Regions from separate parts of the Homo sapiens genome. Here regions 1, 2 and 3 are each linked to region 4. Evidence: promoter capture Hi-C in 16 types of primary human blood cells and fetal thymus (Javierre and others, 2016). All regions are on one chromosome and are shown on one strand. The core of a region is centred on a gene start or on the middle of the fragment in contact, and the rest is flanking DNA. Distances in the headings are between cores, read along the strand shown.

What was found. The method cuts DNA at HindIII sites, captures the fragments that hold promoters and counts their contacts. A CHiCAGO score of 5 or more calls a contact.
Region 1: a contact is called between a fragment that was not itself captured here and the fragment with the promoter of ZNF384 in region 4, in 1 of 17 cell types (activated CD4 T cells). The highest score is 5.4, in activated CD4 T cells.
Region 2: a fragment that was not itself captured here is called in contact with the fragment with the promoter of ZNF384 in region 4 in 1 of 17 cell types (activated CD4 T cells); the score reaches 6.1 in activated CD4 T cells.
Region 3: a contact is called between a fragment that was not itself captured here and the fragment with the promoter of ZNF384 in region 4, in 1 of 17 cell types (naive CD4 T cells). The highest score is 5.8, in naive CD4 T cells.

Annotation. Positions count from the first base shown.
Region 1 is chr12:6,356,296-6,359,376 of GRCh38, forward strand. All of the region lies in intron 4 of SCNN1A (sodium channel epithelial 1 subunit alpha), which reads right to left. Among named protein-coding and RNA genes, the nearest start is that of TNFRSF1A, 16 kb to the left of the region's middle. The HindIII fragment of the contact is 2,019 bases long and covers 639-2,657 here.
Region 2 is chr12:7,061,869-7,064,817 of GRCh38, forward strand. C1S (complement C1s) reads left to right here. Exons shown (of 12, transcript NM_001734.5): 2 at 1-49; 3 at 607-814; 4 at 1,022-1,199; 5 at 2,399-2,524. The coding sequence starts at 45. Among named protein-coding and RNA genes, the nearest start is that of C1S, 2.6 kb to the left of the region's middle. The HindIII fragment of the contact is 7,460 bases long and covers 1-2,949 here.
Region 3 is chr12:6,321,116-6,324,177 of GRCh38, forward strand. The region is part of intron 13 of PLEKHG6 (pleckstrin homology and RhoGEF domain containing G6); the gene reads left to right. Among named protein-coding and RNA genes, the nearest start is that of PLEKHG6, 12 kb to the left of the region's middle. RefSeq lists enhancers at 1,817-2,358, 2,247-2,316, 2,367-2,456, 2,900-3,062. The HindIII fragment of the contact is 1,382 bases long and covers 1,028-2,409 here.
Region 4 is chr12:6,687,729-6,690,886 of GRCh38, forward strand. ZNF384 (zinc finger protein 384) reads right to left here and starts at 1,647. Exons shown (of 12, transcript NM_001385745.1): 1 at 1,370-1,647; 2 at 439-498. RefSeq lists silencers at 1,496-1,605, 1,686-1,765 and an enhancer at 1,499-2,125. The HindIII fragment of the contact is 17,984 bases long and covers 1-3,158 here.

The DNA of each region.
Region 1 (3,081 bases), core at 398-2,897, 330 kb before region 4:
AGTGTTAGTTCCCCATTGAATCATGAGCTCCTTGATGACAGGAGCCACATCTCATTCATCTCTGTGTCATCTCTGGGTTAGTTGCATAGATCCTGTCATCTAGGAGATAGAGGAGATGATTAATAAATAGTTGTTGAGTGAGGAATGAATGAATGAATGAATGAATGAATGAATGAAGGGGAGGAGGGGAGCAGGGTTAAAGGAGAAAGTGTGACCAGTGGTGAGCACGGAGCTGAGGGGAGGAAGATCAGTACCAAGTGTTTCCTGGGAGCCTCTTGCATCAGTATGTCTCAGAATGGTAGGTCCAAAACTCATCTGTGACAGGTGTGGGGACAGAGAGAAAGCAATCACAGAGGCAACACAGCTGCAGTAGGACTGCAATTTCACAGCAAATCACAGGTTCCAGAACAGGGAGGCTGTGTGGGTTGTAGCACAGCACATGTGCCACACGGCACAGAGAGGATCTGTGTTCTGCTACCCTGCCATCTTGGAGCTAGCGACGGGAGCCAGGCAAAGACGGAAAGGGGACTTCGGCCAGTGAGCAGCAGAGGAGGACTAAAGAGAAGAGGGAGAAGAGGCTGGCCAGAGATAAAGGGTGGGGTTCTGGTTGTACGGTCTCAAGCAGGTCATTGTTTCTAAGCTTATTCTCCTCCTCTGTAAAATGTAGGATGATTCTGTAAAATGAGGAGATTGGAACTAGGTGATCCGGGATATTCCACTGGCCTTGAAGAACAAAGGCACAGAGGCGTGACATACTGGTGCACATTCTAGGATGTACTGGGAAGTCAGCACTTCTAGAGCCCAGGCTAGATGCAGGGAAGGACTGAAGGAGAGGCTACAGAGGTGGCCAGTCCTGAAGGCTGGTGAGCCCTTCGCACACAGAGAGGGGACAAGTATAATGGTGGGTGCTGCCCCCATGGAAAGCAGGCACAAGTTCCATCAGCGGTGGAGAAACACGGATGGGTTTTAAAACATAGAGCTTCGAAAAAAAAAAGTGGTGGGGCACAGTGGCTCACGCCTGTAATCCCAACACTTTGGGAGGCTGAGACAGGTGGATCAGTTGAAGTCAGAAGTTTGAGACCAGCCTGGCCAACATGGTGAAACCCCGTCTCTACCAAAAATACAAAAATTCGCCAGGCGTGGTGGTGGGCACCTATTATCTCAGCTAGTCGGGAGGCTGAGGCAGAAGAATCGCTTGAACTTGGGAGGTTGCAGTGAGCTGAGATTGCACCACTGCACACTACAGCGAGACTCTGTCTCAAAAAAAAAAATAGTAAGAGGTGAAATGAGATCTATAACACAATACCATTTATATAAATTAAATACAGATTTTGCAAAAACACATAGAGATACACACTAAGCACATTACTATAGTGGCCTATGAGAATCAGTATAATGTGATGGTTAAGAGCACAGACTCAGCCAGGCGCAGTGGCTGACGCCTGTAATCCCAGCACTTTGGGAGGCCGAGGCGGGTGGGGTCACCTGAGGTCAGGAGTTTGAGACCAGCCTGGCCAACATGGTGAAACCCCATCTCTACTAAAAATACAAAATTAGCCGGGCACGGCGGCACATGCCTGTAATCCCAGCTACTCAGGAAGCTGAGGCAGGAGAATCACTTGAACCTGGGAGGTGGAGGTTGTCATGAGCTGAGATTGCGCCATTGCACTCCAGCCTGGCCAGTAAGAGTGAAACTCCGTCTCCAAAAGAAAAAAAAAGAGCACAGACTCCAGAATTAAATTCCTTGTATTTGAATCCTGGGGCTCTAACAAGTATTAGATGTGGGACCAAACAAGTTACTTACTTAATCTCTCTGTACCTCAGTTTCCTCAGCTGTAAAATGGGGATAATAAAAATATCAACCTCACAGGGGTGTTGAGCATGAAATTATGCTTAGAATGGTGTCTAGCCTTAGTAAGAGCTGTATTAGCTCACTAGTACGATTACAGGGATTCATTAAGATGGCTAAAGTCAAAAAGACAGACAACAGCATGAGGAGGAGGTAGAGAATTTAGAACCTTCATACATTGCTGTTGGGAATGTTAAATGGTGTGACCATTTGGAAAAGTCTGGTAGCTCCTCAAAATGTTAAATATAGAGTTACCACATGACCCAGCAGTTCCACTCATAGGTAAACACCCAAGAGAAATAAAAACATAGATCCATGTACAGGATCCACAAAAACATGTACAGGAATGTTCATAGCAGCATTAATCATAACAGCCAAAAAGTAGAAACAATCCAAATGTCCATCAACTGAGAATGGATAAGCAAAAATGTGGGCCGGGCGTGGTGGCTTACACCTATAATCCCAGCACTTTGGGAGGCCGAGGCAGGAGGATGGCTTGAGCTCAGGAGTTCGAGATCAGCCTGGGCACCATAGTGAGACCTAGTCTCTACTAAAATTAAAAAAAATTAGCTGGGCATGGTGGCATGAGCCTGTAGTCCCAGCTACTTGGGAGGCTGAATCAGGAGGATCGTTTCAGCCCAGGAAATCAAAGCTACAGTGAGGTCTGATTGTGCCACTGTACTCCAGCCTGGGTAACAGAGTGAGAACCTGTCTCAAAAAAAAAAAAAAAAAAAAGGTGGTGTATCTACACAATATCATAGTATTCAGCCATAAAAATGAAGTTCTGATCCATGCTACAACATGGATAAGCTTTGAAAACGTTATGCTAAATGAAAGAGGCCACTCACAAAAGACCACATATTGTATGATTCCACTTATGTGAAATGTCCACCACAGGCAATCCATAGAGACAGAAAGCAGAAGAGTGGCTCTCAGGGCTTGGAGGAGGGGAGAAAATGGGGAAGAACTGCTAATGGGTACAGGGTTTCTTTTTGGGGTAAGGAAAATATTCTAAAAACAGGTAGTGGTAATGGTTACACAACTCCAAATATATTAAAAATCACTAAATTATACATATTAAAAGAATACATTTATGGTTTGTAAATTATATCTCAATAAAAGTGTTATTAAAAAAAGATTATAGGGTGGGGGAAAAGGGTGTAGTTATCGGGGAGGAAAGGGGTGAGAAAGCCATGCTAAGGAGTACCAACTTGATGCTGGAGGCCGTGAGA
Region 2 (2,949 bases), core at 22-2,521, 370 kb after region 4:
GACCAAGAGACAGGCAGCTCACCAGGGTGGACAAATCGCCAGAGATGTGGTAAGTGATCAAGGGTCCCTGAGATGACACAGACTCCATTCCCTTCATCTTCTCAAGAAAAGCGCTCAAGGGCCAGGCATGATGGCTCACACCTGTAACCCCAGCACTTTGGGAGGCTGAGGCGGGAGGATTGCTTGAGCCCAGGACTTTGAGACCAGCCTGGGCAACATAAGGAGACCCTGTCTCTATTAAAAAAAAAAAAAATTAGCCCAGCGTCATGCGTGTCACCTGTGGTCCCTGCTACTCAAAAGGCTGAGGTGGTAGAATCACTTGAGCGCGGGAGGTCAAGGCTGCAGTGACCTGAGATCGCACCACTGCACTCCAGCCTGGGTGACAGAGTGAGAACCTGTCTCAAAAAAAAAAAAAAAAGGGCTCTTGTCTGAAGCCTGGGTTTTGGTTTGACCTGGGCCTTTTCTTTATTCCGACCTAAGATTCTCCCCCATGGCCGATTGACTGCCTCTCTTCTTCCCCCTTTCTTCTGCCTCTGGCAAATAGCGCGTTCTGTCCTAGGCTACTGGTGCCTGGTCACCCGCCAATCTATGCCTCTGTTTTTTCAGGTGCATTGTCCTGTTTTCACTTTTGGCATGGGTTTATGCTGAGCCTACCATGTATGGGGAGATCCTGTCCCCTAACTATCCTCAGGCATATCCCAGTGAGGTAGAGAAATCTTGGGACATAGAAGTTCCTGAAGGGTATGGGATTCACCTCTACTTCACCCATCTGGACATTGAGCTGTCAGAGAACTGTGCGTATGACTCAGTGCAGGTATGTTATAAGCACAAAAAGAATAGAGATGGAAGACTAGGGCTAAGGTAGCGGAATAAGGATGTGGGAGGGAGTGCCACCTGTACTCACAGTGAACTGGAGTCAAGTCCTAGTGGCATAAATGTTCTATTCTCTCTGTCCCTTCTTTTAACTCCATACCAAAATATTACCCTTTCCTAGATTTTTTTTTTGTGACTCTTCTCTTAGATAATCTCAGGAGACACTGAAGAAGGGAGGCTCTGTGGACAGAGGAGCAGTAACAATCCCCACTCTCCAATTGTGGAAGAGTTCCAAGTCCCATACAACAAACTCCAGGTGATCTTTAAGTCAGACTTTTCCAATGAAGAGCGTTTTACGGGGTTTGCTGCATACTATGTTGCCACAGGTAAGGCTCACCCTTCTGCATGTGCCTTATTGACCCAGCTAAAAGATTAGAAATGAGAAATCCACTGAGCAACACATTGAATGAGGATTCTGTTCGTAATTCTTATAAAAAGTGTTGACTTGGCCTGGGTCGCTCCATAAATCACTTTTGTGAAATTCAAATGCATGATCATATCTTAGTGGTGATGATGATCATGGTAATAACACATAGTACATAATAAACAGCAATTTGTTGAGAGCCACTATAAACTGGGTATGTATTGGGGATTGGGGATTTTTCCTATTTTAACACAATCGTCACTTTAATCCTTCAAGGTAGGTATTATTTGCTCCATATAAAGATGAAGAAAATAAGGACTAGGAAAGTTAATAACTTGCCAAGAATCACACAAGGAATGTGTAGTATTTAAACCCATTCAATATATGGCATTCAAACCTTCAAATTCTGGGTACTTCTGTATCTCTCTCTAGGTTAAAATGAAGCTAGGACATCTCATAAAGCCAAACTATTGTTTAGATTTGACAGAAGGACCAACATCATATAAAGCAATGAATGTACTGATTCCTCCCTGCAGAAGGCATCGTCATGATGTTTACCTTGCAGAGTGTCATTCCTGGAGCTGAAATGCTCTGTACATGAGAAAAGTCAAGGATCTCTGACATTAAGAGCTGCCTAGGCCGGGCATGGTAGCTCACACCTGTAATCCCAGCACTTTGGGAGGCTGAGGCAGGTGGATTACCGGAGCCCAGGAGTTCAAGACCAGCCTGGCCAACATGGTGAAACCCTGTCTCTACTAAAAATATGAAAAATTAACCAGGCATAGTGGTGGTGCGTGCTTGTGTTCCCAGCTCCTCGGGAGGTAGAGGCGTGAGACTTGTTTGAACTTGCTTGAAAATGTGGAGGTTGCAGTGAGCCAAGATCCCACCACTGCACTCCAGCCTCGGTGACAGAGTGAGGCTATGTCACTTACACACACACACCCCCGAGCTTCCTTATAGCTGTGTAGTGGTAGGGCTCAACTCTGGAATCATATGTCAGGAGAGTAATATGGAATAATAGTAGCCTGAAATGTGATCCCTTGACGGATCTTTAAGCAATAGGCCTTTCCTACTTTTTCTTACCCTTATGGTTTTGGATTTAACCTCATTCTCCCTTCTTGGTGTTTGTTCTTGACCTCAGCCTCTTTCTACTCTTTGTAGACATAAATGAATGCACAGATTTTGTAGATGTCCCTTGTAGCCACTTCTGCAACAATTTCATTGGTGGTTACTTCTGCTCCTGCCCCCCGGAATATTTCCTCCATGATGACATGAAGAATTGCGGAGGTGAGCTTGGTGTTAAGAGGGTTGCATGTTCCCTGGGATTTGGAATGGCTGAGGCCTCAGAAAGGGCTTTGTCCACCCTTCCAACTTCGATTAGGCCAAGCCTTCATTTGGCACTTCTTTTTTATTTTAGAATTTATTTATTTATGTATTATTTTTAATAATTTCAATAGTTTTGGGGGTACTGGTGTTTTTGGTTACATGGATGAGTTCCTTAGTGGTCAATTCTGAGATTTTAGTGCACTTGTTACTTGAGCGGTGTACACTATACCCAGTGTGTAGTTTTCTCGCCCCTGTTTCAACCTCCTCCCACGTTGAGTCCCCAGAGTCCATTATATCACTCTGTATTGGCATCTATTCTTAGTTACTCATAAGCTGAGATGAAGCCACAAGAAGGAGGAAGATAAGACTATAGGGTAAAGTTAGTT
Region 3 (3,062 bases), core at 469-2,968, 370 kb before region 4:
CTCAAGTGAGTCTCCCAGCTTAGCCTCCCAAGTAGCTGGGACTGCAGGTGTGTACCACCACACCTGGCTAATTTTTTGCATCTTTTTGTGGAGACAGGGTCTTTCCATGTTGTCCAGGCTGGTCTTGAACTCCTGAGCTTAAGCAATCTGCATATCTCGGCCTCCCAAAGTGCTGAGATTACAGGCGTGAGCCACCGTGCATAGCCCTGCCATGAATTCTTGAGCAAGGGTGAAATCAGTGTGTTTCCTCTTGAATTAGGTTTTCAGGAAATCAGGTAGCAGTGTGCTGGGTGGGCTGGAGGAGGGAGAAATTGGTGACAGGAGGTTTATTGTACTAGTTTGGGTGTGAAACATGGAAGGTTTAGTGCCACAGCCTTAGGGAGACATTGCAAAAAGGGACAAAAAACAAAGGAGAAGAAAGGACCTAAAGAAGAGGGAAGAGGCCGGGCGCGGTGGCTCACGCCTGTAATCCCAGCACTTTGGGAGGCCGAGGCGGGCCGATCACGAGGTCAGGAGATTGAGACCACGGTGAAACCCCATCTCTACTAAAAAAGACAAAAAATTAGCCGGGCGCGGTGGCGGGCACCTGTAGTCCCAGCTACTCGGGAGGCTGAGGCAGGAGAATGGCGTGAACCCGGGAGGCGGAGCTTGCAGTGAGCCGAGATCGCGCCACTGCACTCCAGCCTGGGCGACAGAGCGAGACTCTGTCTTAAAAAAAAAAAAAAAAGAAGAGGGAAGAGAAGGGGGAGCCTTAGGGATACTTTGGTTAAAGTCTATACTGAATTCAGAAAAATCCAGGTTCAGACACCGGTCCTACCAGGTCCTAGCCATGTGACCTTGGGTAAGTTATATGACCTCCCTCAACTTCAATTTCGTCATCTGCAAAACAGATATACACAATGACTACCTGCTTCCTAGGGAGATTCAAAGCTGTCATTCGGCTTAGGCACACAGCCTGGGGCCAGCACTGGGCACAGGCTCAGGAACTCCAGATACCCAGCGGCAAAGAGCACAGTTGGCCTCCCGAAGCTTCAGTTTGGAACACTGCATTGGCAATGGGACCCCAGACAGAAATGCAGTCATTAGAAAGGGAAAGGGAAATGTGTTTGTTTAGTTATTGCTTCCTCAGTGAGGTGGCTTTACTGTAGGAATATTTAAACAGCAGCGCTTTGAAATTGAGGCAGCCAAGATATAACCTAGTGGAGATATCTTAGGGGCTTTGGGAACAAAAGAAACAGAAACAAAGACCTGGAATTCAAGTGAAAGAGGAGGACAAAAAACACACCCCAAGGGGAGGCAGGTGGGTTTTGTGATGACAGTGGTCTCCCATCTGCCCTGTCCCCTGCTTCCGGCTCGGTTCACTGTCCCCTCTGCATGGCAGGGACTTCTCTCCACCACTTCCACCTAAGCCTAAACACACTTTCCACTAGGCTGGACTGACTGGCAAGTGACATCATTCTGGTGGTTAATCAAATTTTCTTGGCCAGGCGTAGTGGCTCACCTCCTCTAATCCCAGCACTTTGAGAGGCTGAGGCAGGCAGATGGCTTGAGACCAGAAGTTCAAGACCCAGCCTGGCCAACATGGCAAAACCCCATCTTTACAAAAAATACAAAAATTAGCTGGGCCTGGTGGCGCATGCCTGTAGTCCCAGCTACTCGGGAGGCTGAGGTGGGAGGATCACTTGAACCCGGGAGATAGAGCCTGCGGTGAGCTATGTTCCCACCACTGCACTACAACCCAGACAACAGGGTGAGACCTTGTCTAAAAAAAAAAAAAGTTAAATAAAACATTTTCCTGAAGGCTAGAGGCTCAAGGGGGAGCCCAGGGACAAAAGCGCAAGCTAGTGGCATCGGTGTCCCTAGAGCCCCAACTCCCCAGGATAGCCAGTGGGGCTGGCAGTGAATGGCAGGCTGCCTTTTTTCCTTCGGAACTGCCACCTCCACCTTCAGAACTTTCTCCTCTTTTTTTTGGTTTTTAGTCACAGAACAACAGCCAGACTCTCACCTTCTCCCTTTCAGAATCCCAAGAGCTACTGAAAATTACGGGTATTTTACTATGCAAAACAACTCAGTCCCCTGGTAGTCTCACTCCAGGCTAACAGGAAAGATCTGTCAAGATCTATAACCAAGATATGCACCAAGGCTCCCTGGCCTTCCTTAGCAAAACAAAGAAAACTGAAACTTTGAAATGACTTTTCCTGCTATTGTCTCACACCAGATTATTAGGGAATCCTCTCTAGAGCCATCAGTCTTTATACACTGAAGAGGGCAGTAGAAACTCTGTTGGTCCCTTTCATAGAGCAATCCCCAGGGGGCAGACTATTGTTTTCTCACCCTGGCAGAAACGTTGACTTGCAGATTTATTCCTAGCGGGTCTAGCTGTGATGACTCACACTTTTAGAGAAAGTAAGCTTCTCCAGGGAGAAGAGACTGAATCTTGGGGAATGCCCAGGGACTGAGAAGAGGAAAAGGAACAGAGACAGGAACAGAAAGAGCCGTCAGAGATGGCGACCAAGAAATTAAAGCAGGGAGACTGAAGGAGGCAGCCGAGGCTAAGAGCCAGGGTCTGAAGGAGAGGCCCGAGCAGCTGTCAGGGAGTTACTTCACCTCTTGGGGAGTTGCAGTGCACGCAGGACAGACAGTCCGCAAGTGGCCAGGCACAAGGCCCAGCACTGTATGGGCACTCCATAAATGTTTGCCGTTGTCATCATTAGAAGAAAGGGGTGGTCTTTGGGGCCTGGGTAGGGCCTGCTGCTGACTGGGGAAACGCATCCGCATCTGTTGCTCAGGAAGTCAGTGGGCACGTTTCAGAGTTCGGTTTTAGTCCGGCACTGGGGAGTTCTGGGAGGAGAGTGGGTGAATCTAGGAGCCACCCCAGAGACAGCAGGGAAAGGAGGCATTTCCTCTCCATGGGTACAAAGGAAGAAGAATCCTGCTAGGGGCCCTCCCTTCCTCTTCTCAGTTTTGTAGGGGGGTCACATTCTGGCTTAAGCGCCAATTTCCTTTTCCTTTCCCGTCCCCTCTGCCCCCATGTGTCTCTCCTCTTAACCAAGCCGAGAAAA
Region 4 (3,158 bases), core at 397-2,896:
TCTAACACTCCACTGGACTATTTGGGATAGGAACTCCATTCTAAACTCAGCTCTGCTTGTTCCAGACACAGGAAAGCAATTCCATAAGGACTATATTGGCATTTAGGGTCTTTGTGTCCCAAAGCAGAATAAAGATTTCCCCTTTGGACACAAGGCAACACTATTCAGTGGCTTCACCTGAGCATTTCATATTTCATTCCTGATGAGCATTAGTAGGAATGGAAAGTGATGGGGGATAGCGCCAACTTTTTACACAAAAACTTCCTGACCCTCAAGAGATAATAGAAAAAAACTGATTTCTCTCCACAACAATCTCAGCATTACAATTGCTATTACTTTAAGTATTCTATCACATTGTGAAACACACACACGCCCCATTTGGTTGTGACCCCTTCTCCCCCAAAACCAGAAAAGCCATTAACCCAAAAATCATCTTACCCTCTCTCTCTCTTCCTCCTGCCGTCTTATTCCTTCTCCTTTCCAGGGCTCCTGAACTTTCTGTAAACAAATTGTCTAGGTTACAGGGGCCAGGCAGGGTGCAGCCACCAGAGAACTGTGGAGAACCTCAGGAATTATTTGTCAGCAGTCAGTCTGGAAGGCAGGCAGACCCCCCAGCCAGCAATCCAAAGACGGGTGGATATAATAACAGCAGTCTAGTGCTACCCTCTACGTGGATACAAGAGAAATAAATCCAATTCCCAGAAACTAAGACGAATTCTATCACCAGCGTTTGGGTTTCACTCCTAGGCTCAGAGACTGGTCCTTGTTCGTTCCCAGGCCACAGGTAACCAGGGGTCAGAGAACATTAGAGATGGAGGAGGAGGAGGGTCTGTGCCCCTGAGGAGTGGCTTCAGAAGGCAAAGCTGAGGGCTGGGGGATGCACAAGACCTTGTGGCAGGCACAGTGCCAGTTCAGGCCCAGCCACTTCCTCTAGCCTTCCCCCCACTTCTTCGAGGACTTCGCCCCCTGCCTACCCGAGGCCTTGTGCCAAGAAGTACCTCCCTCAGCCTGCACCGTGGTCTATCTACTGGAGACCCCAGCTGTCCCCTCAAAACCTTCGCTCCCCTGAGACAGTTCCTGGGAGCCTTCTCCTGATGTCGTCCCCTACCCCTTTCTCAAAGACCCTTCCTTGGGACGTCCCTCCTTCCCCTCCAGGGAGCTGAACTCTGCCACCCACCAGACAGGCACCCGCCCCCTAAACCCCCCCATTCCTTCCCATCGCCCGCTCCTCCACAACCACTTCCGGTTCCGGGACGGACACACACACAGTCACATCGTGGACCCCCCCTTCCCCGCCTGCCCAAGGAAAAGGGGAGGGGGGAGGAGCAAGCAGCTTGGCGCGCGCCGGCTGTAGCGGCGCGAGACTCACCGGGCGGCGACGGCTGCGGCGGCGCCAGAGCCTGAGCCAGGGCGCGGGAGGGGCGGCGTTTGCTGGGAAAGGAGGGAGCCGAGGAGGGTGGGAGGACCAGGAAGGGGCGAGGGAGGGGAAAAAGCGCAAGGCGCAGCGCGCGGGCACGCACTTCTGGAGCGAGACAGACCCACACACTCACACGCACGGAACGCGCGCGAGACACCCGCAGGGCGGGGGCGCGAGGTAGTGGGTGGCCCCCCCTCCTTGCTGCCCTCCCCTTGCACTCACCCGGAAGTGGTGCTGCAGCTCGTGCTCCCGCGAACCCCAGTTCCTCCACGCCCCCCTCCCTCCCCCCAACAGGCTCAGAGAAGAGCTCTGCGGAGAGAAGGCGGGAGCGCCGGAAACGAAAAGGGGGGAGGGAGGGAAATAGCAATGTAGGGGGGGCGCTAATGGAGAAAGAGGGGCGTGCAGAAGCCGAGTCACTTCCGGGAGTGGCTGGAACACTTCCGGCGCCGCTAGCGCTGCGAGATATTCAGGGCAGAAGTTACGATAACTCGGGGCGGAAATAGCTTCTGCCCAGCGACTGGGAAGAGGGGATGTGACGCTATAGCGGAAGTGAAGGCGGGTTCCGCTAGGGGCAAAAGCTGAAACCGGAGGACTCCGGCCCTGAGCTTCCGGAAGGGACATCTGGGGAAGGTGGGGGGGTGGAAACGCGACAGGTTCATGAATTATCCATCAAGGTAGGAGAGGAGGTGTGGGTTCTTCAGATGCTGGGACCCCGTTTCTCTTCCCTCTGGATGTTGAATAAGCTGATGTAGGAAATTACCATTATTTTTTCTGATACCCCCAAGAATGTCTCAATGCTTTGAATATGCGGGAAAGGACTAGGACGTATCCTTGTTTTTCGGAGGTCCCTACTTAGGTCCAGTTAGAAACTCTCCCAGCCATCAAAATCTGTCTCTCTGACACATCCCTTACTTTACTTTGGTCTTTTCTTGTTGCCCATACCCACATCTCTATCCCCTTACCCTGTTTTACTTAAATATAGCACTTATTACTGCCTGATTTATTGTTTGCTGTCCACCTCTCCCAACTAAAATATTGGCTACAGGACAGCGAGGACTGAATTGTTCGTTGCTGTATCCTCATATCCTGGCAGTTAAGTGGTCTGTAAACTCTTGTTGTATAAATGAACTATAGTTCATTATGAACACCTAAATATGAACCCTTTTAGGAAGCCTTGCCTGATTGCTCCAACCTGTAATGGTCCCTCTGAATTCCCATAGTATTTAATACGTACCTTTTATTGATATTTTAACTATTTCATACATGTGATTCCCCAGCAAGATTGTCAGTTCCTCATGGAAGGAAATACGTTGCTTTGCTGAGCATATAGTAAATGCTGAATATGTTGTTTGAACAAGTGAATGCTGTTACAAGCGTGCACCCCGACCTGGCCAGAATCCCCCTGGGCTCAGCTCTAAGCAGAACTGAGGTCTCTCCTACTAATGGTAAGAGCCTCTTGCTGAGAAAAATAACCTTTTTTTTTTTTTTTTAAAGACAGAGTGTCACCCTGTTGCCCAGGCTGGAGTGCATTGGCGCCATCTTGGCTCACTGCAACCTCTGCCTCCTGGGTTCAAGCGATTCTCCTGCCTCAGCCTCCCTAGCAGCTGGGATGACAGTCGCCCGCCACCACACCGGGCTAATTTTTTGTATCTTTAGTGGAGTCGGGGTTTCACCATGTTGGCCAGGCTGGTCTCGAACTCCTGACCTCAACTGATCCACCTGTCTCAGCCTCCCAAAGTGC